Linked DNA regions of Homo sapiens: region 1 is linked to region 2. Evidence: promoter capture Hi-C in human tissues and cell types (Jung and others, 2019). All regions are on one chromosome and are shown on one strand. The core of a region is centred on a gene start or on the middle of the fragment in contact, and the rest is flanking DNA. Distances in the headings are between cores, read along the strand shown. Region 1 overlaps KDM4B (lysine demethylase 4B). Region 2 holds the start of PTPRS (protein tyrosine phosphatase receptor type S).

Evidence for each region. Contacts are between HindIII fragments. The study calls those that stand out against the background at their distance.
Region 1: a contact is called between a fragment that was not itself captured here and the fragment with the promoter of PTPRS in region 2, in 2 of the 25 tissues and cell types used here (H1 embryonic stem cells and dorsolateral prefrontal cortex).

Annotation. Positions count from the first base shown.
Region 1 is chr19:4,988,623-4,994,348 of GRCh38, forward strand. All of the region lies in intron 1 of KDM4B (lysine demethylase 4B), which reads left to right. Among named protein-coding and RNA genes, the nearest start is that of KDM4B, 22 kb to the left of the region's middle. RefSeq lists enhancers at 1-424, 425-929, 1,146-1,647, 1,648-2,147. The HindIII fragment of the contact is 6,577 bases long and covers 1-4,860 here.
Region 2 is chr19:5,338,754-5,344,392 of GRCh38, forward strand. PTPRS (protein tyrosine phosphatase receptor type S) reads right to left here and starts at 2,059. Exons shown (of 38, transcript NM_002850.4): 1 at 1,911-2,059. RefSeq lists an enhancer at 1-120 and a silencer at 1,987-2,266. The HindIII fragment of the contact is 6,208 bases long and covers 1-4,931 here.

The DNA of each region.
Region 1 (5,726 bases), core at 322-2,821, 350 kb before region 2:
CAGGGGAGCTGTTACTTACGTTTACCAGCTTATTAGAAAGGATTTTACAAAGGAGGCAGATGAAGACATGTGTAGGGTGAGGGATGTGGGAAGGGGCACAGAGGGTTCCGTGCTCTCCCCGGGCTGTGACGTCTCCAGGAACCTCCACGCATTCATCTGTGGGGAAGCTTCCATCCCAGTCCTCCGGGTTTTACCTCAGCTTCCTCGCAGAGGCTTGGGTGACCTCACTGCATTGGCCTGGGTGATCAAGTCAGCCTTCAGCCACATGCCCCTCCCCTCCCGTCCAGCCTGGGTCTTTTCAGTGAGCAGCCCTATTCCCTCAGCTCCCGAGGGGCTGCCAAGCCCTTAGTCACCTCATTAGCACACTGGAGAATTCCGAGGATCTGGGGGAGTCGTAGGCCAGGAAACAGGACAAAATGTATTTCACAGTCTCACTGGGCCGGTCCCTTGCCTCCGCTTCCTTGTCTGTGATGAGAGGACGGGAGGGTGGCTGTCTGGACAGTGCTGAAGTGGTAGAGGTGAGTCGCTGCCGTGGAGGGCTTGGCAGGGTGCTCTGTGAAGGGCCCTGTGGCCTGGGGTGGAAGCCGCTTGCAGAGTGCTGGTTCTTTGCCTAAGGATGGTGGGGCAGGGGGGCCGTGTTCACACGTGCTGTTGGCTGTGTCTGCCAGTCTTCCTTTCTTTTTTCTGTTTCTGTTTCTTTTTCTTTGTTTTTTTTTGTTTGTTTGTTTGTTTTGAGACAGAGTCTTGCTCTGTCGCCCAGGCTGGAGTGCAGTGGCACGATCTTGGCTCACTGTAACCTCCGTCTCCCAGGTTCAAGCGATTCTCCTGCCTCAGCCTCCCCCAGTAGCTGGGATTACAGGCATGCACCACCACGCCCAGCTAATTTTTTTGTATTATTAGTAGAGACAGGGTTTTACCATGTTGGCCAGGCTAGTCTTGAACTCCTGACCTCAGGTGATCCGCCTGCCTCAGCCTCCCAAAGTGCTCGGATTACAGGCATGAGCCACCATGCCCAGTCTTCTTCTTCTTCTTCTTCTTTTTTTTTTGTGAGATGGAGTTTCACTTTGTTGTCCAGGCTGGAGTGCAAGGGCACGATTTTGGCTCACTGCAACCTCTGCCTTCTGGGTTCAAGCGATTCTCCTGCCTCAGCCTCCTAAGTAGCTGTGATTACAGGCATGCGCCACTGTGCCCGGCTAATTTTTGCATTTTTAGTAGAGATAGGGTTTCACCTTGTTCACCAGGCTGGTCTTGAACTCCTGACTTCAGGTGATCCACTCGCCTCGGCCTCTCCGAGTGCTGGGATTATAGGCGTGAGCCACGGTGTCTGACTCAGTCTTCCTTTTCATGTCATCCCTTGTTAATTTCCTTTAGAAACAGTTTGGGCCAGGTGCAGTGGGTGGCTTATGCCTGTCATCCAAGCGCTTTGGGGGGCTGAGGTGGGAGGATCACTTGAGGCCAGGAGTTCAAGACCAGGCTGGGCAACATAATGAGACCCAGTCTCTACAAAAAAATTAAAAGCTTAGCTGAGCATGGAGGTGGCACCTGTAATCCCAGCTACTTGGGAGGCTGAGGCAGAAGGATCGCTTGAACCCAGGAGGTTGAGGCTGCAGTGAGCCACGATTGCACCAGTGTGCTCCAGCCTGGGCAAAAGAGTGAGACCCTGTCCCCGCCCCACAAAAAGAGGGTCAGAACCTTGGTGTTAGAGCAGTTCACTTCCACCCAAAAACAGGGACTTAGAAAGGGAGACACTTGTGTGGAGCCCGAGGCAGACATGCCCTGACTTAGCAGTGCAGGTTTCTGTACTGGAATGAGGGCCTGGGGCAGGTGGCCTCTGGCAGGATGCATCTGTTACCTGAGTCTGAAGGCAGCGTGGCGAGGAGATGGGAGGGCTGTGCCTGGGATCCTGGGGCCGTGGAGAGCTCATCTAGAGGTCATGAGTATTGGGCAAAGCTCACATGCCGTGTTTTAATACTGTCATTATGGAAGTTGGCCTGGGGGTAATCCAGTGTCTCTTTTAGATCTGTGTTGTACAAACACTGAACTAGTTCTGGTCGCCTCTCCGGCCTTTGTTTTGGGGAGAATATTCGATGAGATGGCCCGTAATTCTAACACTGTGCATTTTGAAGGATATTTATAAACCCGGATGGATAAGGCCCTTCTTAGTGCTATTCTTGTGTTGGTTCCCTTTATTATTTTTTTTAAAAAACTTTATTATGGGCCGGGTATGATGGCTCACGCCTATAATCCCAGCACTTTGGGAGTCTGAGGTGGGCGGACCACCTGAGATCAGGAGTTCGAGACCAGCCTGACCAATATGGTGAAACCTCGTCTTTACTAAAAATACAAAAATTAGCTGGGCGTGATGGCGGGCGCCTGTAGTCCCAGCTACTAGGGAGGGGACAGGAGAATTGCTTGAACCCAGGAGGCGGAGGATGCAGTGAGCTGAGATTGTGCCGCTGCACTCCTGCCTGGGCGACAGAGTGAGACTCGGTCTCAAAAAATAGTAAAGCAAAAAATAAAAATAAAAACACTGTTATGGAGAATTTGACTACACAGAAAGGTAGACAACATGGAATAACGAGCCCCCCAGGCCCCTCACCCAGCCCCAAAACCATCAACCCATGGCAACCCCCCCTGCCCTACCCCCATCTGTGGTGAAATAGCCCTCATATTATTTTTGTTAACTTTTAATTTTTAAAGAATTACAGAGGCTGGGTGTGGTGGCTCACACCTGTCATCCAGGCACTTTGGGAGGCAGAGGTGGGAGGATCACTTGAGTCCAGTAGTTCGAGACCAGCCTGGGCAACACAGTGAGACCCTGTCGCTACAAAAGCAAAAATAAGAATGAATTATAGACTGCCAAGGTGTTGCAAAAATAATAAAGAGATTTCCCTAGGCTTCACCCTGCTGTCTCCAGTGGTAACATTTTACATAACTTTAGTGTCCCGTTAAAACTAGGAAATTGACACAGGACACTGTGGCTTCAGACCTTCCTCAGGCGTCCTCAGTGTTAGCACTGGCTCATTCTTTTGGTAGAGTCTTTGCGACATTCTGTTACCTGCACAGATTCCAGGAACCACCATTGCAATCAAGATACAGAACTGTTCTGTCAACACAAAGGAACGCTCTGCTTCTCCCTTCTGTCACCCCCAGGCCCTGGCGACGGCTGAGGATCTCTGCATCTCTGTAACCTTGCCCTTTTGAGAATGTTATGTAGATGGAATCACAGCGTATTTAACCTCTTGGGATTGGGTTTTTTCGCTTGCAATCTGTCGAAGTTGTTGTGTGTATCAGTAGTTACTTTCTTTTATTACTCAGTAGTTCTCCATACGGGTGTTGTTTTCTCATTCTGCTTATTTCTGTGAGACGGGTGGCAGTGGTAAGGTCCCATCTTTCATTCCCGATTTTAGCAATTTGAGTTCTCCAGAGATGGAGGACAAGATCCAAGGTTGCCAGGGCCTGGGGGCGACAGAGTGGAAGCAGAGTGAGTTCCTTTGTGTTGACGGAACAGCCCTGTATCTGATTGCAGTGGCGGTTCCAGGAATCTGTGCAGATAACAAAATGTCACGAAGACATTTACCTTCGACAGTTTTACTGGTCTTTTCAAGGGACCGACTTTTGGTTTCATTGGCTGTCTCTATTTTGTTTATTTTTGCTCGTTATCTTTGTTACGTACTGTGCTCCATCTGCCTTAGTTTCCGTGTGCTCTTCTTTTTCCAGTGTCTTAAGGGAGATGCTTAAATTAATATTTGAGATCTTCCTCTTTTTAAAAACTGTATAGGCAATTATAAATTTCCCTCTAAGTACTGCTTTAGCTGCAACCTGTACTTTTTTTTTTTCCTTGCGATAGGATCTTGCTCTGTTGCCCAGACTGGAGTGCAGTGGTGCAGTCACAAATCACTGCAGCCTTGACCTCCCGAGCTCAAGCAATCCTCCCACCTCAGCCCACCAAGTAGCTGGGACCAGAGGCATGTGCTACTATCCCTGGCTAATTTAAAAAATAATTTTGTGGAGAGGAGGTCTCACTATATTTCCCCAGGCTGGTCTCGTACTCCTGGGTTCAAGCATTCCTCTCACCTTGGCCTCCCAAAGTGCTGGGATTACAGGCATGAGCCACTGTGTCTGGCCATCCTATAAGTTTTACTTTGTTGTGAGTTCATTTTCATTCACCTCAAAATATTTTCTAATATTTTCTTCCTGTTCAACCCTGTGATTATTTAGGAGTATGTTGGTTAATTTCCATGTACTTGTGAATCCCCAAATTACTTTCTGTTGTTGATTTCTAATTTCCATTGTGGTTGGAGAACTTACTTTGGATGATCTGAATTCTTTTCAATTTAATGAGGCTTGTTTTATGGACTAACATATGGTTTATCCTGGAGAATGTTCCATATGTACTGAGAAGAGAATATGTTCTATAGATTCTTTTGGCTTATAGTGCTCAAGTCTCTCTCTTTGTTGCTCTTCTGCTAGTTGTGTTATCTTTTATTGAAAGTGAGGGTATGAGCCGGGCATGGGGGCTCATGCCTGTAATCTCAGCACTTTGGGAGGCCGAGGTGAGTGGATCACCTGAGGTCAGCAGTTTGAGACCAGCCTGGCCAACAAGGCAAAACCCTGTCTCTACTAAAAACACAAAAATTAGCCGAGTGTGGTGGCGCATGCCTGTATTCCAGCTACTCGGGAGGCTGAGGCACCAGAATCGCTTGAACCCGGGAGGCAGAGGTTGCAGTGAGCTGAGATCACCCCACTACCCTCCAGCCTGGGCGACAGAGTGAGACTCCATCTCAAGGGAAAAAAAAAAAAGAAAGTGAAGGTATTGACATCTCCAGCTATTGTTGAATTACTTCTCCTTTTATTTCTGTCATTTTTTGCTTCATGTATTTTGGGGCTCTGTTATTAGATGCATATATGTTTATAATTGCTGTATCTTGCTAATGGATTCACCTTTTTATCATTATAAAATGTCCCTCTTTATCTCTAGTAACTTTTTTGTTTGTTTTTTTTTTGAGATGGAGTCTTGCACTTTTGCCCAGTCTGGAGTGCAGTGTTGCGATCATGGCTCATTGCAGCCTCAGCCTCCTGGGCTCAAGTAATCCTCCTGCCTCAGCATCCTAAGTAGCTGGGACTACAGGTGTGTGTTGCCACGCCTGGCTAATTTTTTTGAATTTTAACAGAGGTGAGGTCTTACTATGTTGCCCAGGCTGGTGTCAAACTCCTGAACTCAAGTGATCCTCCCACCTTGGCCTCCTGAAGTGCTTGGATTACAGGCATGAGTCATTATACCACACCTGGCACATTTTTTTTTAAGTCTATTTTGTCTGATGTTAGTGTAGCCACTCCAGCTTTCTTATGGTTCCTGTTTGCATGTTACACGTTTAATTTTTATATTTTCAGCCTGTTTTTTTTTTTTTTTTTTTTTTGTTATTGTTGTTTTGTCTTTTTTGAGACAGGGTTTCGACCTCCCGGCATGCACCACCATACCTGGCTAATTTTTGTGTTTTTTCTGTAGAGACGGGTTTTGCCACATTGCCTAAGCTGATCTCGAACTCCTGGGCTCAAGCAGTTTGCCTGCCTAGGCCTCCCGAAGTGTTGGGATTACAGGTGTGAGCCACTGTGCCCAGCCTATTTTCAGCCTGTTCGTATCTTTGAATCTAAAGAGTGTCCCCTGGCTGGGCGCAGTGGCTCACGCCTGTAATCTCAGCACTTTGGGAGGCCGAGGCGGGTGG
Region 2 (5,639 bases), core at 809-3,308:
CCAAGTCCCTGGGCCATTAATAAACGCTCCAGCAGCTGCCGCTGGTATCGCAGGAGCAGAGGAGCGGGATGGCTTCCTTCTCCCGGGCGAAAGGCGGCAGAAAGAGGGAAGAAGGGCGCCCCAGACAAAGAGGCGCCGTCACCCTCTGCACCCCAAGGACAGCAGCGATAGGGGGCCACCCAGAGGAGGCCAGAATCCCAGCAGCCAAAGTCCGGGTGGTGGCGGACGGGAGCCCGGAGCGTGTGGGTCCCTGTCCTTGGGACCCTAGGGGTCTCTTCCTGCCTCCTCCGGCTTCTAGGTATCATCCCTGCTGCTCAGCCGGGACTCCGACACCTCGGACACCCGCTTCACTAGCCGCGGCTGCCGGGATGTGTTTTTAGGGTCTCGGCCAGAGGCAGGAGGACCCCATGCTCAGAAGGGGGCTCCCCTAGATTGTGACGGGGGGGGACAGGGGAATCCCAGCTGAGCCCAGAAGGGGGAGGCAAGGCACCCCCAATGAGGCTCTGGGAGGTTTGTTAATTTGGGGGAATGAGGTCCCAGGAGGTGGCTGGATTTGAGGAAGGGTTGCAGAGGAAGGGGCGTTCTTGGAAGCTGCATATTTAGGGAGACGAGAAGACGATTTGAGACTGGGGAAAGAGGGTCAACCGAAGAAGGAGGTCCCAGATTTGGGGCGGGGGGTGTGGCTGAAAAAAAGATTCCCAGTTTGTGGGAAAGGTTCCCTGATTTGAGGATTCTGGAGAGAAAGCGGCCGAAGGGGAGTTCCCCAATTTGGGAAGGGGGGGAATTGGTGGGAAATGTCCAGGATTTGTAGGGGGAGGTCCGAAGGGGAGGATCTTAATTTTAGGAGAGATTCCCATAAAGAGAGGTGAACTTGGCCGCAACCTGGCCGAACCCTCGCACCCACGGCGCGGGCACTCTAACCTGGGGGGCTCCCCTCAGGGCACGCCCCGCGCCCCCTTTAACCCAGTGCCGACGGCCCCGCCCCCGGTATGACGTCACCTCCCCTCCCCCCGCAGCCCCCGGGGGCTCCCGGGGCGTGCGGAACCCGCGGGGCTGGCGGTTCCAGGGGCGGCTTCCCCACTCTCGGGATCCCCACGGGGCCCCCAGCGCGGAGGGGAGACTGGGGTGCTGGGCGTGCGCGTCTGCCTGCCAGAGCCCCTGGGGCTGGGGGCTGAGGCTCGCCCCTGGGTGGGGAGGCTGGAAGGGGGCGCCGAGGCCGCAGAAGGGTGGGGCAATGCCCGAGTGCCGGAGGGGCGACCTCCCATAAGGCAACGACAGGGCCCGGAGTGTTCCAGGGGAGACGGCGTAGACTAGGGGGTCTCCAGGGGAGGGAGACCCGGAGAGGGAAGGCGGCGGGCGCAGCAGCCCTGGAGCCACCCCGCCTGGAGCCACCCGTCCCGGCTCCTCTCCGCTCCGGGGCGCCCGCATGCCCCCCATCCCCCGGCACAGCGCCCCCTGCCTCCAGGACCCGCCCGGGGACCCGGGCCGGGCGCCGCCGGGGCCGGCACCGGCTCCGCACACACGCGCGCCCCCCTCCGCGCCTCTGCCCCGCCCGCAGCCCGGGGTGGTGCAGCCGGCGGCGCTGGGCAGCTTCCAATGCCGCGCTCTGGGCGCTTCCAGCCCAGCCCCCTCCCACGCCGCGGACGAAGCCCCCCCAGCACCCCCTGCCGAGCGCCCCCAGCGCGGCCCCGGCCCTGTCCCTCGGGGCATTGTCCGGGCGCAGCTACCGGGGCGCAGCGGCTGGGCGTGCAACTGGCTGCAGCCGAGCATCCTCCGAGCACAATGGCCGTGCAGGCTTCCCCGGCACAAAGCCGGCGCGCTGCCCACTCGGCTGCCTCCGAGACCCCCCTTGGAGCGCCTGCATTTTTTTTTCCTCTAATCCATGATTTTATTTTTTTTTTTGGCTTTACCTGGAGGCTGGCTGGGCTGGGCTCCCCCGGCTCTGCCCCGCTTCACATCGTGGCTGTTGCATGGGATCCGAGCGGAGCCCGAGCGCCAGCGGCTCGCGGCGTGCGCGCGCCGGCCGGGCTGCCGGGCGGGCGGCGCGAGGACACTCACTGCGGCTCGCGCTCCCCTAGCTCCCGCTCGCGCGCCCCCCCAGCCGGTGACGTCATCCCTTCCGCCAGCGCCGCCGCCGCCGCCGCCGGGTCGGGGGCAGGGCCGGCCCGTGCGCGTCACTGCGCAGCCGCGCGGCCGCCACGCCCCCCGGCCAATGGGACGGCGCAGCGCGGTCACGTGGCTCCGGGGTGTTTAAAGGGCCGCGGGAGCACGTGGGGCGCGGGGCTTCGCGGGACACGTGGGCGGCTGGGGTGGTGGTGGTGGTGGCGGCTGCGGCGGCGGCGGGAAGGGCCCCTGGGGCTACTGTCCGTGCGGGAGCCCCAGCGTCCTGGGTGCAAAGGGCATGGCACTTTCTGTGCGCTGCCCTAAACTGTGCCACGGCTCCCCAGTACCCTTGGAATAAAATCCCGCCTCCTCTCTGCAGCTCGCCGTTTCACATTAGCGCCCACTACCCTGTCCCCTCCCCCCCACCATGTCAATGATCCAGAAAAACCAGCTGCTCCTTCTTTGCTTTTTCAGAGATGGGGTCTGCCACCTGGGCCTCAGTACAGTGGTATGATCATAGCTCACTGCAGCTTCAAACTCCTGGGCTCAGGTGATCCTCCCGCCTCAGCCTCCTGAGTAGTTGGGCTCGGGTGATCCTCCCGCCTCAGCCAGCTTCTTACAGTTCCTCTAACTTGAGCATCCAAGAACTTCCCCTTCTCATCTTTCCAATTTCTGCTCAAATAAGCAGCGCCTGGGAGAAGCCCTCCCTGACAACAGCTACCAGCCACGCCCCACTCCACTCTATCCCATTATCCCGGTTTGTTGTTGTTGTTGTTGTTTGTTTGGTTTTGAGTCGGAGTCTCACTCTGTCGCCCAGGCTGGAATGCAGTGGCGTGATCGCGGCTCACTGTAACCTCCGCCTCCTGGATTCAAGCTATTCTCCTGTCTCAGCCTCCGGAGTAGCTGGAATTACAGGCGTGCTGTCACCACGCCTGGCTAATTTTTGTATTTTTGTTAGAGACAGTGTTTCACCATGTTGGCCAGGCTGGTCTTGAACTCCTGACCTCAGTGATCCGTCCACCTCGGCCTCCCAAAGTGCTGGGATTACAGGCGTGAGCCACCGCGCCTGGTCCCATTATCCCGTTTTTATTCTAGTTACACTACAGTGTGGCTCCAGAGATCCCTATTGTAGGTTGAACACATGAATGAATGGATGATGGAGCACTTCTTATAGAGTAAGCACTTTACACAGGTCTCACCTAATTACCATCCCCTGCTTCCCTGGAGTCAGGACGAGCCACAGTTGGAACCCAGCTAAAACACTGATTTGCTGTGTGAGGCCCGGAGCCTCACTTTCCCCATCTGTAGAATGGATTTGCCTCTGGATCTCAGCTCTCATCTGTAAAATGGGGCAAGGTAGCCCCTGCTCCTAAGGAGGGTGTGATGATGAATTGCTATAATGTGGCAGCCTGGCTGCCATTGGTGCCTGAAGATGGAATAATAAGAGAAAAGAGGCCGGGCCCGGTGACTCATGCCTGTAATCCCAGCACTTTGGGAAGCCAAGGTGGGCAGATCACTTGTCAGGAGTTCGAGACCAGGCTGGCCGACATGGCGAAACCCCATCTCTACTAAAAATACAAAAATTAGCCGAGCGTGGTGGCAGGTGCCTGTAGTCTCAGCTAGTTGGGAGGCTGAGGCAGGAGAAACTCTTGAACCCGGGAGGCGGAGGTTGCAGTGAACCAATATCACACCACTGCACACTCTAGCCTGGGCGACAGAGTGAGACTCTCAAAAATAAGGAAAAAAAACAGAGCGGAAGTAAATAAAAGGGGGATATTGACAAAGGTAAGGGGGTTGGAGGGCTCACAGCCACCAAGCAAGATTGCACATCAGTCCTTGTGTTTTGATCATGTCGAAAGCATTTATTTCCTCAAGGCACATATTTGGAGAAGGCCTGGTGCCCAACAGAGGAACTCAACTTTAGAATTGGTTTTTTTTTTCCTCCAAAATTGTTGATTCATTCATTCCAGGCCACAGATGCAGATAAACAAAAAGCATTAACCCGGGGAACAAAACGATAAGGCGGAAGTCATAAACAGGAGAAAAGAGAGGAGATAATGAATAATTTAACAAGGAACCTAATTTAAGCTTGGAGTTTCCCAGCGGCCAGTGCAGCAGCCACGTTTGCAGAGCCTACTTTGTTTTTCTTCCTGGTGGGGTGACCCTGATCTGACCGTTTACAATCTGGCCTCAGTTTTCTCATCCAAGCAATGGGAACACGATCCCATCTTGAAGGATCAAATGGGGTGGTCTGTGCACAAATGCTTAGCGTGGTTTCTCACGCACAGTGGGTGCTGAAGCCTTGGAGAATTGGTGGAGACACAGTAAAATGAGATGGCTGATCGTGGAGGGGCTGATCATGGCACGAACCCCAGCCCAGTGACCTGTTTGGGAGGTGACCTCAAACAAGTGGCCGCAACACTGTAAGCCTAGCTGTCCCCATCTAGAAAAGGGGGACAACCACTAGTACCTCTGAGGGATTTTGTGAGCAGTCAAAGAAAACAGATTAAATACATCAAAAACAGAATTAAAATACATTGTAGCAGCTGGGCGCGGTGGCTCATGCCAGTAATCCCAGCACTTTGAGAGGCCAGGGCGGGTGGATCACCTGAGGTCAGGAGTTCGAGACCAGCCTGGCCAACATGGCAAAACCCTGTCTCTGCTAAAAATACAAAAATTAGCCAGGTGTGATGGTGCATGCCTGTAGTCCCAGCTACTCATGAGGCTGAGGCAGGAGAATTGCTTGAACCTGGGAGGCAGAGGTTGCAGTGAGCTGAGATCACACCACTGCACTCCAGCTGGGCAACAGAGTGAGACTCCCTCTCAAACAAAAAATACGTTGGCCAGGTGCGGTGGCTCACGCCTGTAATCCCAGCACTTTGGGAAGCCAAGGCAGGTGGATTGCCTGAGCTCAGGAGTTTGAGACCAGCCTGGCTAACATGGTGAAACCCCATCTCTACTAAAAATACAGAAATTAGCTGGGCGTGGTGGCGCGTGCCTGTAGTCCCAGTTACTCAGAAGGCAGGAGAATCGCTTCTACCCGGGAGGCAGATGTTGTAAGTGAGCTGAGCGCCACTGCACTCCAGCCTGGCAACAGAGTGAGACTTTGTCTCAAAAAAAAAAAAAAATACATTCCAGCATGTGCTTGGGAAACCCATCTGTTCAGGCCATGCATCCGGCCCCGCTCCCAGGTTGTTTGAAGTGCTGTGGACAACAGAAGTAAACAAAACAGTCTTTAAAATCCCTGGAGTTGGCCAGGCACTTTGGCCCAGCACTTTAGGAGGCTGAGGCGGGAGGATGGCTTGAGCCCAGGTATTTGGGACTAGCCTGGGCAACATAGGGAGACCCCGTCTTTACAAAAAGTTTTAGAAGTTAGCTGGGCATGGTGGTACACATCTGTGATCCCAGCTACCTGGGAGGTTGAGGTAGGAGGATCGCTTGGATGTGAGAGTTTGAGGCTGCAGTGAACTCTAAGCACGCCACTGCACTCCAGCCTGGGCAACAGAGCAAAAATTCCTGGAGTCAACAGTGCTGGG